Linked DNA regions of Homo sapiens: region 2 is linked to region 1. Evidence: promoter capture Hi-C in 16 types of primary human blood cells and fetal thymus (Javierre and others, 2016). All regions are on one chromosome and are shown on one strand. The core of a region is centred on a gene start or on the middle of the fragment in contact, and the rest is flanking DNA. Distances in the headings are between cores, read along the strand shown.

Evidence for each region. The method cuts DNA at HindIII sites, captures the fragments that hold promoters and counts their contacts. A CHiCAGO score of 5 or more calls a contact.
Region 2: a contact is called between a fragment that was not itself captured here and the fragment with the promoter of SLC16A4 in region 1, in 11 of 17 cell types (M2 macrophages, total B cells, naive B cells and 8 more). The highest score is 10.6, in M2 macrophages.

What each region holds. Positions count from the first base shown.
Region 1 is chr1:110,386,195-110,393,494 of GRCh38, forward strand. It overlaps SLC16A4 (solute carrier family 16 member 4), which reads right to left and starts at 4,832. Exons shown (of 9, transcript NM_004696.3): 1 at 4,671-4,832; 2 at 3,043-3,161. The coding sequence starts at 3,129. The HindIII fragment of the contact is 6,987 bases long and covers 216-7,202 here.
Region 2 is chr1:110,201,092-110,208,391 of GRCh38, forward strand. SLC6A17 (solute carrier family 6 member 17) reads left to right here. Exons shown (of 12, transcript NM_001010898.4): 12 at 1-1,111. Among named protein-coding and RNA genes, the nearest start is that of KCNC4-DT, 5.2 kb to the right of the region's middle. RefSeq lists an enhancer at 1,955-2,004 and silencers at 6,821-6,880, 6,891-6,940. The HindIII fragment of the contact is 5,398 bases long and covers 1,195-6,592 here.

The DNA.
Region 1 (7,300 bases), core at 3,582-6,081:
ATAACTGAGTCCGTGTCCACTATGTATCAAGAAGACCAAGGGCAGAGCCTTTGCACCTACCATGCTTCCCGTCCCTTAACTTGAAGTCTTCCAACTTTGTTTCAGTTTTGACTCAAAGATATTAAAAATCTCTCCCAAGGTCTAGGTTTTTCCTTAGTTAATTTAGCAGACTACATAAATCTGCATTATTCTACATAATCCCATGTCTTAGACCAAGCTTGGTGGGTTTTAGTTCTGTTACCAGAGTCCACGTCATACATTGTAAATGGCTCACTCCAAAATAAAGCAAAAACCCTAGAACTTCTCCAGTCCCCTCATTTTCTTTTTGTTTTTAAGAGCAGTTAATTGGGTTGAACCTGGCAGGAACACCTTAAGCAGGACTTCCCCCACACCCCACCTCCAATAAGAGCTTCCTCACTAGATCATTTTAATTATTGTCTGGGAAAGGAGTTGGATCAGCCTCAGTGACTTATTTTCAATACAGGCACCAGGCTTTGTCAGAGTTAGTTTTATCTAATAACAACTTCTTATCCTGCGTCCTTTTCTAGTATCACCCTAGCTCCTCCTGACCTTCACAGGCAAACTTCTGTAAAAAATGGTCTATTAGGTATCTCCACTTTCTGTCATTCTGCTACTCCACTGAAAACTAAAGTTCACTAACTTTGGCCCCCACTGCTCCACTGTACTAGCTCTTATCAAGGTTATTAGATTTCTTTGTTGCTAAACCAATAGAGTCTTGTTATTTCTCTCCTATTTGACCTCTCAGTAGCATCTGCTCGTCACATTTCTCTGAAATGCAAATCTATCACATCCCTGCTTAATTTTTCTCATTAGCTTCTCATAGCCTCAAGAGCCATTCTCATCTCTTCAGTTTCATCAACTATCCCCTTCATCCTTATTTGTTTATTCATAAATGTGTGCAGCTATCAATTCATCCATCCATCTATCCATCCACCAACAGTATTTTACTGAGTGCCTACTATGTTCCAGGCTGTATACTGGCACTGGGCTTACGGTAATGAGCATATACTCATGAGCAATGCAGACATAGACCCTGCCCCCATGGAACATTCAGTCTAGTAAGACAGACTGAATACAGAAAACAGTCATACAAATATATAAAGTGTGGTAAGTTGGTTAGAATGAATCTCTCTCTCTTTTTTTAAGTAGGAAGCTCCCAAAGAACATTGTTATTTTTCACTTACTAGGAGCTCATCTGTTATAGAAAAGAACAGTTGTAAGTCATACAGAAACAAAAGCACAGTCATTCAAGTATCCACATTACAACTGTGGGGGATTAGCCCCTGAATTTATTGTTAACATTTTGAGGATCCAGTGCATTTTTTGTGCTTAGTAAGCAGTATCACACCCTAAAAGTGGGACAGTGTTTATTAATCTGGTTATTAGATGGTTTTTCCTATCAGCAACTAAATTGATCAAAAACCATTCTATCCTCAGAGGATAATGTAGAAAAAGTCAGGGTGGTTACTGGGGAGAAAGGCAGGAGAATTAGAGATCCTCACCAACAGTGCCTATTCTGCAAAGCCTATGATTTAGGGGGGTGGCCCAGCCCCAGGAAGGGCTCTCAGACTTAGGGCATCCTTTAGTTTCCCTATTAGTAACATTTCTAGGGGGAAAATGAGATTGTTTAGTACTGAAGCTAATGTTTAGCAAGTACTACTATTATGTGTTAAGAGTTTTGTATTACATAAATCCTGGCTGGGGACCTCTGCCCCTATCTTGTCTAGCACGAGGGAGGAGGCCTGATGTTTTCCCACCATCCTATTTGTAGAATTCTTAGATATCTGCATGTGAACTATAGGATTATTAGAAGGCACCAAGACCTGTGCTACCTTTCCCCGTGAGCTGCTTACTGTAGGGCTGAGTAGGGGGGAAGTGTCGGCAAGAAAAGGGTGTTTTTTTTTGAGTGCATCTCAAAGTTAATAGAACTCTGGAAACACTTAAGAATTGTGCAGCTGGTGCCACTCTCTGGAGAGCTGTGTGGGGCATAGCTGGGGTTCACCAACATTCTGGAATGGGCATGCTGATGATGCAGATCACCACTCTCACACCTCAACCCCTGGGAGGGTGAGGGAAAGAAGTTAATTTAAAAAATGGAATGCCTCGTCTAGTTGCTTATGGGTAAAGGAGAAGAATCAGGCTCCCCCTTCAAAATCCTTGTCCTCCCTTTCCAAACACATCGGAAATATAGATAGCATAAACTATAGTTAGTGGGGATGGATTGGGAAGTAGACAGCAGGCCAAACAGAGGAAATGTCCCCACCCCTTATCGGTAGAAGGGGCTGTGCCCACAGTGTTCTATCTATGCTGGGCTGAACTGGGGAGATCACCCCCAGAGCACTTTTTAGCACCTCCCAGTGCTACTTTTGGGATGGTTAAAAGTATGATTGTCCCCAAACCCTAATTGCCATGCAGCCAGTACAGAACTGCTGATTGTGACTGAGCATTCTCAGGTTTAAGAGATGATAGGAAGAGTAGATGACTGGATTCAGGAACACTTCTGTTTGTTTGTTTTGAGAGAGTCTCTCATGGTTGCCTAGGCTGCAGTGCAGTGGCACGATCTTGGCTCACTTCAGTCTCCACCTCCTGATTTCAAGCAATTCTCCTGCCTCAGCCTCCCAAGTAGCTGGGACTACAGGTGCATGCCACTGCACTCAGCTAATTTTTGTATTTTTGTAGTGATCGGGTTTCACCATGTTAGCTAGGCTGGTCTCGAACTCCTGACTTCAAGTGATCCACACACCTAGGCCTCCCAAAGTGCTGGGATTATAGGTGTGAGCCCCCACACCCAGCCCAGGAACATTTCTGCTTTTGCTCTAGGGGCATTTTCAACTTTCTCCTGGGTTCGGCATGGGCCTCTGACTTTAGCAGTTTTTGGCAGCTCCTGGCCTTGTTCCTGCCCACCCCTCCACTCAGATGCCAAAGATTTCCTAAGTGATCCTATTCGTAGGCAGCTCTGAGCCTTTCTCCAGAAAGCCTGCTTTTAGGCAATAGGAAAGGGGGAAAAAAGTGAATTCTTACCAGGAAAAAATGAATCACAATCATCCATCCCCATCCTCCATCCAGGGTTTTAGTGTAAGGTTGGACCTTCCCCTCCCTCTTCAGCATGATGCCTCTTCTATTTTAAATGCAGAAGATCCCTGTGATAAATCCAAGACAGTTGATTCAGTGGACCAGAAACTAATCTAAACTTTTAAACTTTTTATCTGAAAGGGAACGTTCATACATTGTTGGTGGGAATGCAAATTAGTTCAGCCACTGTGCAACGCAGTTTGGAGATTTCTGAAAGAACCAAAAATTGAACTACCATTTGACCCAGTAATCCCATTCCTGGGTATATACCCAAAGGAAGATAAATTGTTCTACCAAAAAGCCACATGCACTTTTATGTTCACTGCAGCATTATTCACAATAGCAAAGACATGGAATCAACCTACGTGCTCATCAACAGTGGGTTGGATAAAGAAAATGTGATACATAGACACCATGGAATACTACACAGCCACCATAAAAAAGAACAAAATCATATCCTTTCCAGCAATATGGATGCAGCTGGACCATTATCTTGAGCAAATTGATGCAGAAACAACCAAATACTGCATGTTCTCACTTATAAGTGGGAGCTAAAAATTGGGTACATATGGACATAAAGAGGGGAACCACAGACACTGGGGACTACAAGATAGGGAGGGAGGAGGGTTGAAAAACTCCCTATTGGATGCTGTGCTCACTATCTGGGTGAGGGGTTCAATTATACTCCAAATCTCAGCATCAGACAATATGCCTTTGTAACAAACCTACACATGTACCCCCTGAATCTAAAATAAAAGTTGAAATGTAATACAAAACAGAAAAAAAACCTCTTTCCCTATGATATAAAACCACTTGTAATTTTTTTTTAACCCCTCAGTTACAGATGAAGTCTGCCTGATGCAACTAAGGACTTAGTTACCTGGAAAGCCTGATCTCAGTGACTGTGGGGTGGCCACTCCTAGAACTGTACTCAGTGTCCCTCCCCCCAGGTCTGCAAGCCAGTTTCTTGGAGAAGCTGTGCGTCACCCTGCTGGTCCTCCGGGTGAACTCTTAAGAGAAATAGAAAGGGAAGGCGAGCCTTGAGTTTAGGAATTCTCCTTAGAAAACACTTGCTAAATGTAAATATTTTTGGAGCTAAACAGACATGACAACGAAATGCGATACCCGCTTATTGAATATATCCTAGATCAGAAAAAAAAGTTGTAAAAGACAGTTTGTGGGGACAGTTGGGGAAATTTGAATATGGACTGTATAATACAGAATACTGTACCAAGGTTAACCTCTTGGAACCTCTTCCACAAGAGAATATTCTTAGGAGATACATGCTAAAGTATTCAGGAGTAACATGACACTATGCTACCTTCTCCCAATCGGTTCCGTAAAATAAACAAGTGTATATAAAGAATGATAGCAAAAAGAAAATGTAAATGTTCTGAGGAAGGGGGAACAGTACTCATTATTTCCCCTGTCGGGTCGAAGGCTGACTGTTTCTAACTGGAAAGGAAAGTCAGCTGGCAGGGTATGCGGAATGGCCATCTGGTGAGCAGGCTGGGTGGGGAGAGATGCCAGTCGTTGTTAGAAAACCAACCCAGCACACAGTCCCATTCCCATCTTACCTTTGATGTGGTGTTCAGCAAAGAAATCCTCCACAGATGGGGCAATTAAGGAAGAAAAATAAATTACACCGTTTTCTGGAATGTTACTCTTTTTCTAAGGCATTTCATTTTGCTGCATTGTGAAAACAAGTGAGCATTGTAAGAGCCAAGGAGGGCTCAGACGATTTAGGCCCTCCTGCTAGTGGACTTTACTTCCTGAGGGGAGGAGGAAAGACTGTGATTTGATGTCATCTCAGGCCCTCCCTCCACCCACAGTCACTCAGAAGGTAGAATTTTTTGCCGCAGGCTCAAAAGCAAGCATGAAGTAAACTAAGTGGAAAGTCCTTTTGGCGACTATGCTCAGGGCAGGGGGATGGGGCTCCAGAGCTCTCATACACTTGTCTTCAAATTTCCTCAGGGAACTTCTCACAACATGCTTATTTTACAGGAGAATATAAAACTCCTGGATGGGTGGTGAGAGAGGCATTTCCTGGGCCACAAACAGAAATCTTCAGTAAGCTCAACCCATTCGTGTGGCCTTTTGTATATTGACTAAAGATTCTGGTTACTAATTTGGGGTTTCAGACCCCATTTTAATTGCATTTTTGAGATCTGATTACCTCAACCACCTCCTGCAAAAGACGTATGCTCGTAGTAATTTTAATGAGATTTTTTTTATTATATTTTGGAAATGGTTAAGGCTGAGACCCCTAGAAAATTACTGGGATAATTCAACTTTCTCTTCCCATTTCCTCCCTCTACCCTCCACATAAAACAAAACAAAACAAACAAGTCAAATGGGAAATTGTCTTTCGTCTCCCACACCAATATTCCAGATTTTAAACCAGAGTATATTTTAGACGAAAGGATGTGTTTTTAGTTTTATCTGGAAAATCTGCACATATTTATGCATGTTCCTTTTTAAGAAGCAAGAGGCTTCTCAGATTCTTAAAATCAAACTCTATAATACTTTTTGATTAAAGTGCTTGCAGAAGGACAGCTTAGTGGTTTGGGAGGGTGCCCTGTAAGTGTAAGCATGGAAGGATTATGCAGTTACATGATGCTGGTGGCAAGGATCAAATAAACATTCAACAGAAGGAGAAAACCCAAAGAGAGAAGGCAAATAAATGCTTTTCAGAGAGCTGTTTGTAATTATGAATACACTCTAGACAACTTTTTTTTTTTTGAGACAGAGTCTCACTCTGTCGCCCAGGCTGGAGTGCAGTGGTGCAATTTCGGTTCACTGCAACCTCTGCCTCCCGTGTTCAAGTGATTCTCCTGCCTCAGTCTCCCAAGTACCTGGTACTACAGGCGCATACCACCACGCCCAGCTAATTTTTTGTATTTTAGTAGAAACGGGGTTTCACCGTGTTGCCCGGGCTGGTCTCAAACTCCTGAGCTCAGGCAATCCGCCTGCCTTAGCCTGCCAAAGTGCTGGGATTACAGACGTAAGCCACCGTGGCCAGCCTGAAAACATTTTTTAGTAAACAAGACTGATTTATTTATTTTTTTGGTGGCACGCTTGTTGCTCTTTTAAAGCAGGGCTATCTATGATTTCTTTTTTTCTTGAGACAGGGCCTGCTCTATTGCCCAGGCTGGAGTCAGTGGCATAATCATGGTTTACTGCAGCCTTGACCTCCCCAGCTCAAGCAATCCTCCTACCTCAGCCTCCTGAGTAGCTGGGACTACAGGCATGCACCACCATGCTCAGCTAATTAATTTTTTTTTTTTTTAAGAGATGGGGGTTTCACTCTGTTGCCCAGGCTGTTTGCAATGTCCTGGGCTCAAGCGATCCTCCCATCCTGACCTCCCAAAGTATTAGGATTACAGGCATAAACCACTGTAAGGAGCCAGCTATCCATAATTCTAATCACAGGATGAAATGATGCTAGGCTATATATATATTTTTCTTACACACACACACACAGAGGAATATATATATACACACATATACATATAGGAACATATACAACTGGGAAGTTAGATTTCAGGAGGGTTCCTACCATTCCTTAAATGATAATAGTGAATCATTGTGCCTAACCTATGTAAACAATACATTATATATGTGTGTATATATTCCTATTCATCTTTGTCTTATAATAGGCTTTATATTGATAGAGAACTCTGATGCTAATGCCTGGGGTCAGATTTGAAATGCGGCAGAACAGCAAGTCATTCATAGAGGCCAAGAGGACAGCAAAGTAATCAGAGATGAACTTCAAACATATGTTTCATAGAGGCACATGAACAGAAATGCAGGCTTGGTGATAATCTCAATTTTGTCAGTTTTTAAGCCCGTAGACTCTGGGCAATTTACTCTCTTTGAGTCTGTTTCTAAAACTCTAAAGCGTAGCTAATATTTTGCAAGGTTGTTGTGAGGATTAACAATATATAATGTAAGATGACTGCACATTGGACCTACTATTGGTACTTGGTTCATGAAAAATAATTTTTGTTAGTCAAATGAGGCCTAATAGCAAGAAGAAAGAATTCTTAAGCCACCTTTGGGATATTAGTTAACATTTTGGCATCTGTACCCAATTGTCTTAATAAAGCTTGTAGGGTCTTTAACGAAACATAAACAATTCCCTCAACTTCTAACCTTTTAACTCTTGGCCCTAAAGCTATTCAGCAAGAATGCAGCATGATTT
Region 2 (7,300 bases), core at 2,644-5,143, 190 kb before region 1:
TGTTCCCAGTAGAATCGCTAGCTCTTCTCCAGAGGAAAAGTACTAGGATTCTTAAGATGGCGAGACCCCAAGAGGGATCTCATAGCACTGCTGCATTTGCCGTTGACGCAGTCCTGACAGTGTTTGAAAAGGGCCGCCTGCCCCCTCCCCACTGTGCTTTTGATGCCTTTGGAGTCAAAGGCAGGTGGGGTCACCTGATGAGCTAAGATCCAGCCCCAGAATCCTGGAGGAGCAGGAGGTAGCAGGAGAGGACCAGGTCCCCAAGTCCCTTCACAGGGTCCCCACCCCCACTGGCTTTGGTGCTGTCCACACAGTGCCCACCAGAAGGCAGAGGGAACTCCAGGGCAGGGATGTGCCTGAAAGAGTCAACAGTCCCCTGATCCCCTACCTCTGCCTGCCCTCCAGCCCCATCACCAGCTTCTTGCTCAGGGAGACTTCCGCCCTCCTCACTGAGGCAACATGAAGCCCGAGGCCCAGATGGGGGCTGAACAGGTAGGGCACATCAGTTAATGCCAGTGAGGTCAGCTTCTGCCCTCCAGCAATACATGTGCAGGGGTTGCTGCTTTCCCAGTGCCAGGAGAACCCCCGCTCCGAGTCAGCCTGTGTGGGTCATGAGGCTGGGGCCCAGGAGACACGGTCCCAGGCACTGCACAGGCCTGCAGTATTACCAGGCGGAGGGGCTGCTTTTCTGCCCTTCCTCACCCCCACGCCCCACCCCACTCCCCCAGAGTACTCCCCACTGTGAAAAGAGCTGGAAACTAAACTGGTTAGAATGAACCTGGCTCCCTGAGCATCCCTGGATCCTTCAAATAGGCCCTGAGATGTGAGGTCTGCTGCTTCACTGGGGCCCGATGACTTTGGCTGGGGGAGGGGGCCTAGGGCCTCTTCTCATTGAAAGCTCTGCTTTATACAGACCCAAGCATACACACCAGGCCGTCACTTTGGGTTCTGGCATAAGTTCAGAACAATTCAAGTCCATGTGTCCCATGGCTGGTCAGAGCCCTGGGTCAAAACCACTCAGCCCAGGGGAGGGGATGAGGCATTGTCACCCTAGACCCCTCTTCCTCTCTCCCCCACCATAGTGTGCAATAAAGTGTCTGTTCTTACCAAACCCTTCTTGCCTTTCTCACCTGCTCTTGCAATGAGGGAGAGGGAAGGGTGGCCAAGGATCCTGCGGGAAGCTTTGGGGTGAAAAGCTTGGACTGGGATGGGTGGACAGGACTGCTGAGGGGGGTTGTGGGTGCTGGCTGGCTGAGGAGCAGCGCGGGGAGTGTGCACAGGTTCATATCTGTATTTTCCTATGAATTGTCCTAGGTATTAACAATGCACACACTTGTAGAGGGCCCTATTGGGGTCCAGCGATTCCACATGTCTAATTTCCTGTCATCTTTGCAACCGTTTCCTAAGGGAGACCCTTTGCTGGCTACATTTTTCCAGGTGAAACTGCATCTGAAATTAGGATGGTATTTGGTGGTCTCTTACAGGACCCTGTAGGGGAAACTCCTGTCCCACCTGACTACCAGGAAAAGCTATACTTGTCAGCCTGGCAAGGGTGGGGTGTGTGGAGGCCCACCTCAGGGAAGGACAGGGGTGGGAAGGTGCCAGTGTTGAGAGGTCTGACAGCAAGGACCAGGACTCTCTTGGGTGCTGGGTTGGGGGGGGGGTGGGCTCCCCTGGAACAGGCATATTCTAAAGTTCTGCCCCTCTCTTCAAGATAGCTATCCCTCTTGCAAACTTCAGTAGAAGGTAAAGACGAACTAGGGGATCTGACATCACCTCTGTTCTAACATTCCAGCCCCAAGTATTCATTTATTAAACACCCACTGAATACTCAGCACTGTGAAGAACGGACTGTGCTGGTGGCTGGGAAGCTCTTCTTCCTGCCTCACCCTCTAGGAGCACCGACATTGAAAGAAACAAGAAGTCTGGCTCCTGGAGGAGGCCTCACCCCCACCCCACCCAGCTCCAGGCTGGAATGATGCTGCTTGCACTCAGACGCACACAGCCAAGGACCCTGAAGGAACCTGCCATTTTCTTCTCTTGCCATAGAAAGTGTTGTTCCAGGAATAGCCACCAGATGGCAGGAAAACCTTTCTCGCCAGATCATAGTCTGCTTGCCTTCCTCTCTGTCATTTATTCCTTTGTGGGTTAGTTTATTTGTTGAACAAACATTTATTACGTACCCACCCTGGACAGGCTCCATGCCAGCTATAGATGAATAAAGATAAAATCAGCCCCTGCTGTCCTGAGTTTGGCAGAGGGAGGGGACCGGCCCTATAACTCCACATCTCCCCATGTATCTTTCAAACCAGGAAATGGCCTGGTGCTGAAAGTCACTCCTTGTCAAGTATTCAGTCTTTTGGTTGAAGGTAATGTTTTTGGTTGAGATGCAAGCCCTCTTGCCAGGAGGGGCACACAGATCCACCAAGATGCAGCATAACAAGGGCTTTGGTTCCAAGGAGCTCTAGAGTCATACTTCTCAAGTTCAAGTTCAAATGCCACCCAGCTTCCTGCTTCCTGGGAGGCCTTGAGCGAGTCATTTAATCGCTCTGAGCTTAAATGTCCTAGTCTGTAAAACAGACATAATAAATAGATTCAATGAGATAACACATGTTGGTCCAGTTATCTATTGCTGTGTTCCAAGTTACTCCAAGTCTGAGCGGCTTAAAACAACCATTCTATCTCGCAGTTTTCTGAGTAAGGAATTCAGGCAGGACTCGTCTGAGCAACTCTTCTGGTGGCAACCAAGGTCACTCAGTGATATTCAACTAGCAGCGAACTAGTCTGGAGGGTCCAAGGCAGCTGCCCTCACATTCACTCAAATGCCGGGCACTCCAGTGAGAATGGCTGGAAGACTGAGTTCAGCTGGGCCTGCCGGCCAGAGTGAGCACCTACAACTGCCTCTCCAGCATGGCTACTTGGCCAGACTTCTGACTGAAGGGCTTAGGGTCCCCAGAGAGACCATTTCAAGAGACAGGAGGTGGAAGCTGCCAGGTTTTTAAGGCCTGGGGCTGGAAAATGGCACAGTACCTCTACCATCTTCTGTGGGTCACAGCATCTGCCCAAATAAAGGGGAGGGCACACAGAAGCCCCCCTTGTTGATGGGGAGTGGGGAGAGTCTGGCTGCCCATGTAATGGGCTGATTCTAGAGTGTTAGGGATCTTTGTCATCAGTCACCTGCACATGCATGGAAGCCTTCTCCTGAGGGGATGTCAGCTTAGAGACACAGAACTGGGACACACAGCAGGTCATTTCTGGTGGGGAGGTGAGTGGTTAAGTTTGGGCCCTGGGTGGAGGGAGCAGTCAGAGGAGGATGAGAAGGGCATGCAGGAGGACAGGTGAGGCCACTGCTTCTGCCTCAGGTTTGCCCCAGGGCAGGTGGCATGAGTGGTTTGAATCATGGGTCTGTCGCCAACCATACCACCTTGGGGAAGCCACTTTAACCCTGGAATCTCCATTTTCTGATCTGTAAAAGGAGGACGACAATAAAATCTCTTCCTTAGAGATGGTATGAGGGAAAAATGAACTTCATCAGTAACATCTACTGGAATACAGTATCGACTTCTTTCCATATGGGGATACAATAGGTGCTCATTAAATATTTCCTTCCTTCCTTCTTGCGATCCTGGGCAAGGCCATGGGGCCTACTTCATTCTGGGGGCCCCATCACCCATGCAATGAGCCATCTCCTAAAGCTATTCACAAAGGACAGTTTCAGCCTAAAATCCAGAGAAGCCAAGGAAGGAAGGCAGAAAAGGAACTCTCTCCAGGAAAGGGAGTACCAGAGTGTGGGGGTCTCACTGATCCTGTACATTATCATGTTCACCCCAGCAGTCACCACCAGACAGCTCCAGTCATAGGGACTTGGGCCAAGGCTAAAGTATTCCACAGACCACAAGGCTATTGTGGGGTTTTGTTTTTGTTTTCTTTGTTGTTGGTTGGCCCCAAATTCTTTTTAATACTTCTCCCATCAAAAGTGGAGTCTATGCTCCTCCTCTTGAATCTGGGTGAGCAAATGCTTCCTGTGACCAACAGGGTATAGTAGAAGTGATGCTATGTGACTTCCAAGGCTAGATTAGGAAAGGCCGTGCCACTTCCACCTGGTGTTCTAGGGATACTCATTCTAGAGGCAGCCAGCTGCCATGTAAGACAGCCAACCACCCTGAGACTGCCATGCTAGGGAGGCGATATGTTTGCAGATGCTTAGGTTGACAGCTTCAGCTGAGCTTCCAGCCAACAGCCAGTGTCAACTGCCAGCCACATGAACACAGCATACTGAACGTTTAGCCCAGCTGAGCTTCAGATGTTTGCAGCCCGCTGACATCTGATTGTAGCTGCATAAGAGACCCTAAGCAAGAACTGTTCAACTGAGCCCTTCCTTATTTCCTGACCCATAAAATAATAAACAAAATAAAATGGCTGTTGGGTTTATATCACTACATACTAGGGGTAATTTGTTTCATAACAATAGTAACCAGAATATGAACCTTAGTGATTATCTGGTCAAACCTCCTTGTACAACAATGGGGGAAACGGAGGCCCAAAGAGGAAAAGACCAGACTTCCCACAACCAAGCAAGGGGAAGATCGGGGCCAATGCCTGGGTTTCTTGACTCCCAATCTAGTGCACTCTCTGCCACACAGCAAGAAACTGACAGGGAGGACTCCTCCCCCGCCACCCCCCGCCTCATTAATTCCATGCATCAAGCAAGCATGAATCAGGTATTTTGAGTGCCTGGGATTGTGCTGAGCACTGGGAATATACAAAGGACCAGGCAAGAGTCCCTGGCTCGCAGAGGCAGTCACAATCTGACTTGGGCATCTCCCTTCCTGGCACACTCACTGGTGCCAGGCACGCTGCTGCATTCTTTAATTACATCATCTTAGGTGGGAAGAAACCTTGAGATGGGAGAAGACTATGCCTGTCATTCAACCACAAACCCTTACAAAGATTGATCCATGCCAGGCACAGTCCTGGCTGCAGAGCATAAAGACTCAGTGGGGATCTGCTCTCTGTCCCTGGGTCTGAGCTGCCTGGGTTCTGGGTCCCTCCATTCTGCCCAGGGCTGACCCAAGCAGGGAAGAATCCCTGGACTTCAGGAGCACCCAAGAGGAACCTGAGTTTGGCCTGTCTCTCCAGACACCTGCTTCCCCTTTCCCCAGGATATTGCTGGAGGGGACTGGGCCCATCAGGACTAATTAACTCCTCTAATGGAATGAACCAGTTTTTCCTGGAACTTAGCCCAGGTGGGAGCAATCTCTACTTTTCTAGATGGAGAAATGCTAAGTGTCAAGAGGTCTTGCCAGCCGGACCCTGGGCTAGCGTGCATGTGGCAGGCGCGGTGGCGGGAGTGTGCTGTCTGGATGCAGGCTGAGTTCCCAGCCCAGGAGCCTTAAACAAGGAGGCCTCTAGGGTCCACTCAGCTGGTGGCCCCCGTATCGTTCTCTGTCCTTGGCCCAACACCAGCCCTAGCTCCGTCTCTCAGAGTTCGCTGCTGCTGCTTAGGCCTGACATCCCTAAGCGGGGGGAAGGTGTCCATGAGCTAACACTCAGGTCCCCTCCAACCCTATGACTCCAGGTCCATAGTGTATGAGGCCCTGAGCCCTGCCCAGGCCCGAGCTTCTGATCTCTTCTCTTTAAGAGCTGGGCCTTCAAAGGCCACCTTTGAGCCCCAGATACAACTTCACTGGGATTACCACAGCAACCCAACCCTGCTTTCAGTCCTGAGGCAGAGCCATTCTACTGATCTTCACAAGACCTGAATTACTAGGGCTAGGTTCTCCCCAGAGCCCCTCCCCCACCAACCCCCCTCCCCCCAAAGAAGGCTCTCACATTTGATTTGGAGCCTGCAAGTCTCTGCAGGCTGCTTGGGGTTGGGGGAGGCAGGATGAAGTGAGCTGAGACGCAGACAGGAGGCTGCCAGCCTGCTCTTGCCTTCCCTTCTCTTGTTCCCCCATGAGCGGGGAGGCCCTATCACCCTCTAATGAGTCTGATAAAGCAATTCAATTTTCCAGGCTGGGAGAGAGTGAGGCATGCTGGGAAAGGATGCTGGCTCCTTGGCCTGGACCTGAAGGAGGGTCAGTCCCTGGCAGGAGCTAGAATACCAAAAAGGGAAAGTGTGAGCACCAATGGATAGAACCTTGCCTTGGCCTGGAGCCCCTCACCACAAACAGGTTTCAAAGAAGGAAGATGGAGAGGAGATTGGATGGCTCCAGTCATCCTAAAGAGGCTGAGCCCATACAAAGCTCCCAGTGGGGAAAGGGGAAGGGTAAACGGCTTTGATTTCAGGCTTTCAGCTTCCTACGGACAGGGTCAGCGTCGGCACTCAGAGGGTGAGGACCTTATTATGCGGGTGGAGGGGGGGCCTGGAAAGGGTGCAGGTGCTTGACAGCCTCCATCGGTGCCCCTTTAGAATCTCCCATGGCCCTCTCTTCCTATTCTTTCACCACACCCTCACCCCTGATGAGGGAAACCCGCTGTGGCTGACACCTTCTGTGAACTGGCTTTCAGACAGGTGCTCTTCCCTGACAGCCTGAAGAAGCCAGGGCACTAAGGAGAGGACAAAAGAGAAAAGGTGAAAATGAGGGAAAGAAGCTTGGGGAACTAGGAATTTCCAATAGTGGCTGCTTTGTGGTCTTGCTTAAGCCTGTCAGGTATCAAGGTCTTGGAGGAATGAAGAAGGGAGGGAGTAGGCAGAGTCCCAATGGCAGAGTTAGGCTAGAAGATGTACCTGAGGTCCTGGAATCAACAGGAAGCCCAGAATCAGCTGCCACCCCATCTGCCCACATCACAGCCCCCAGAGCTCAGGGCGAGGTCTGGAGCCAGGATGTTCTAGCACCACCAGAGGGCAGCACCCTCACATCCATGGTAGGCTGTGTCACAGTAGCCTGGGCAGGGGGCTCTCCTATCCTTCCCCGGCTCTGTGTTTTGAGGGAACACCAAGACCTCACACAAAGAAATGATGGGGACAAGTCCCATAGTGCTAACTGCAGCATATCGACTCCCTCAGAGAGGTACACGTAACAGGTGAGCCCAGAGTTCTAGAATAAACCTTCAGCAAGGGTGAGGCATTCTCTGGAGGCCTCAGGACTGAGGCTGAGCTCCCCTCTCCCGAGCTGGTCAGTGCACAGAGCTGGGAGTCCTGGCCCCATGCACCTTTACCCAGCTGCCTCTCTCAGGCTGGGCCCTCTGTTTTTGTCAGCTCTTCCTAGGTTCCTATGCCTGTGTCCCAACTTTCTGATCTTCCTCCCTTCCCTCTTGGCCTCCTTTTTCCCTGGCAGCTTTCTCCCTTTACCCATCT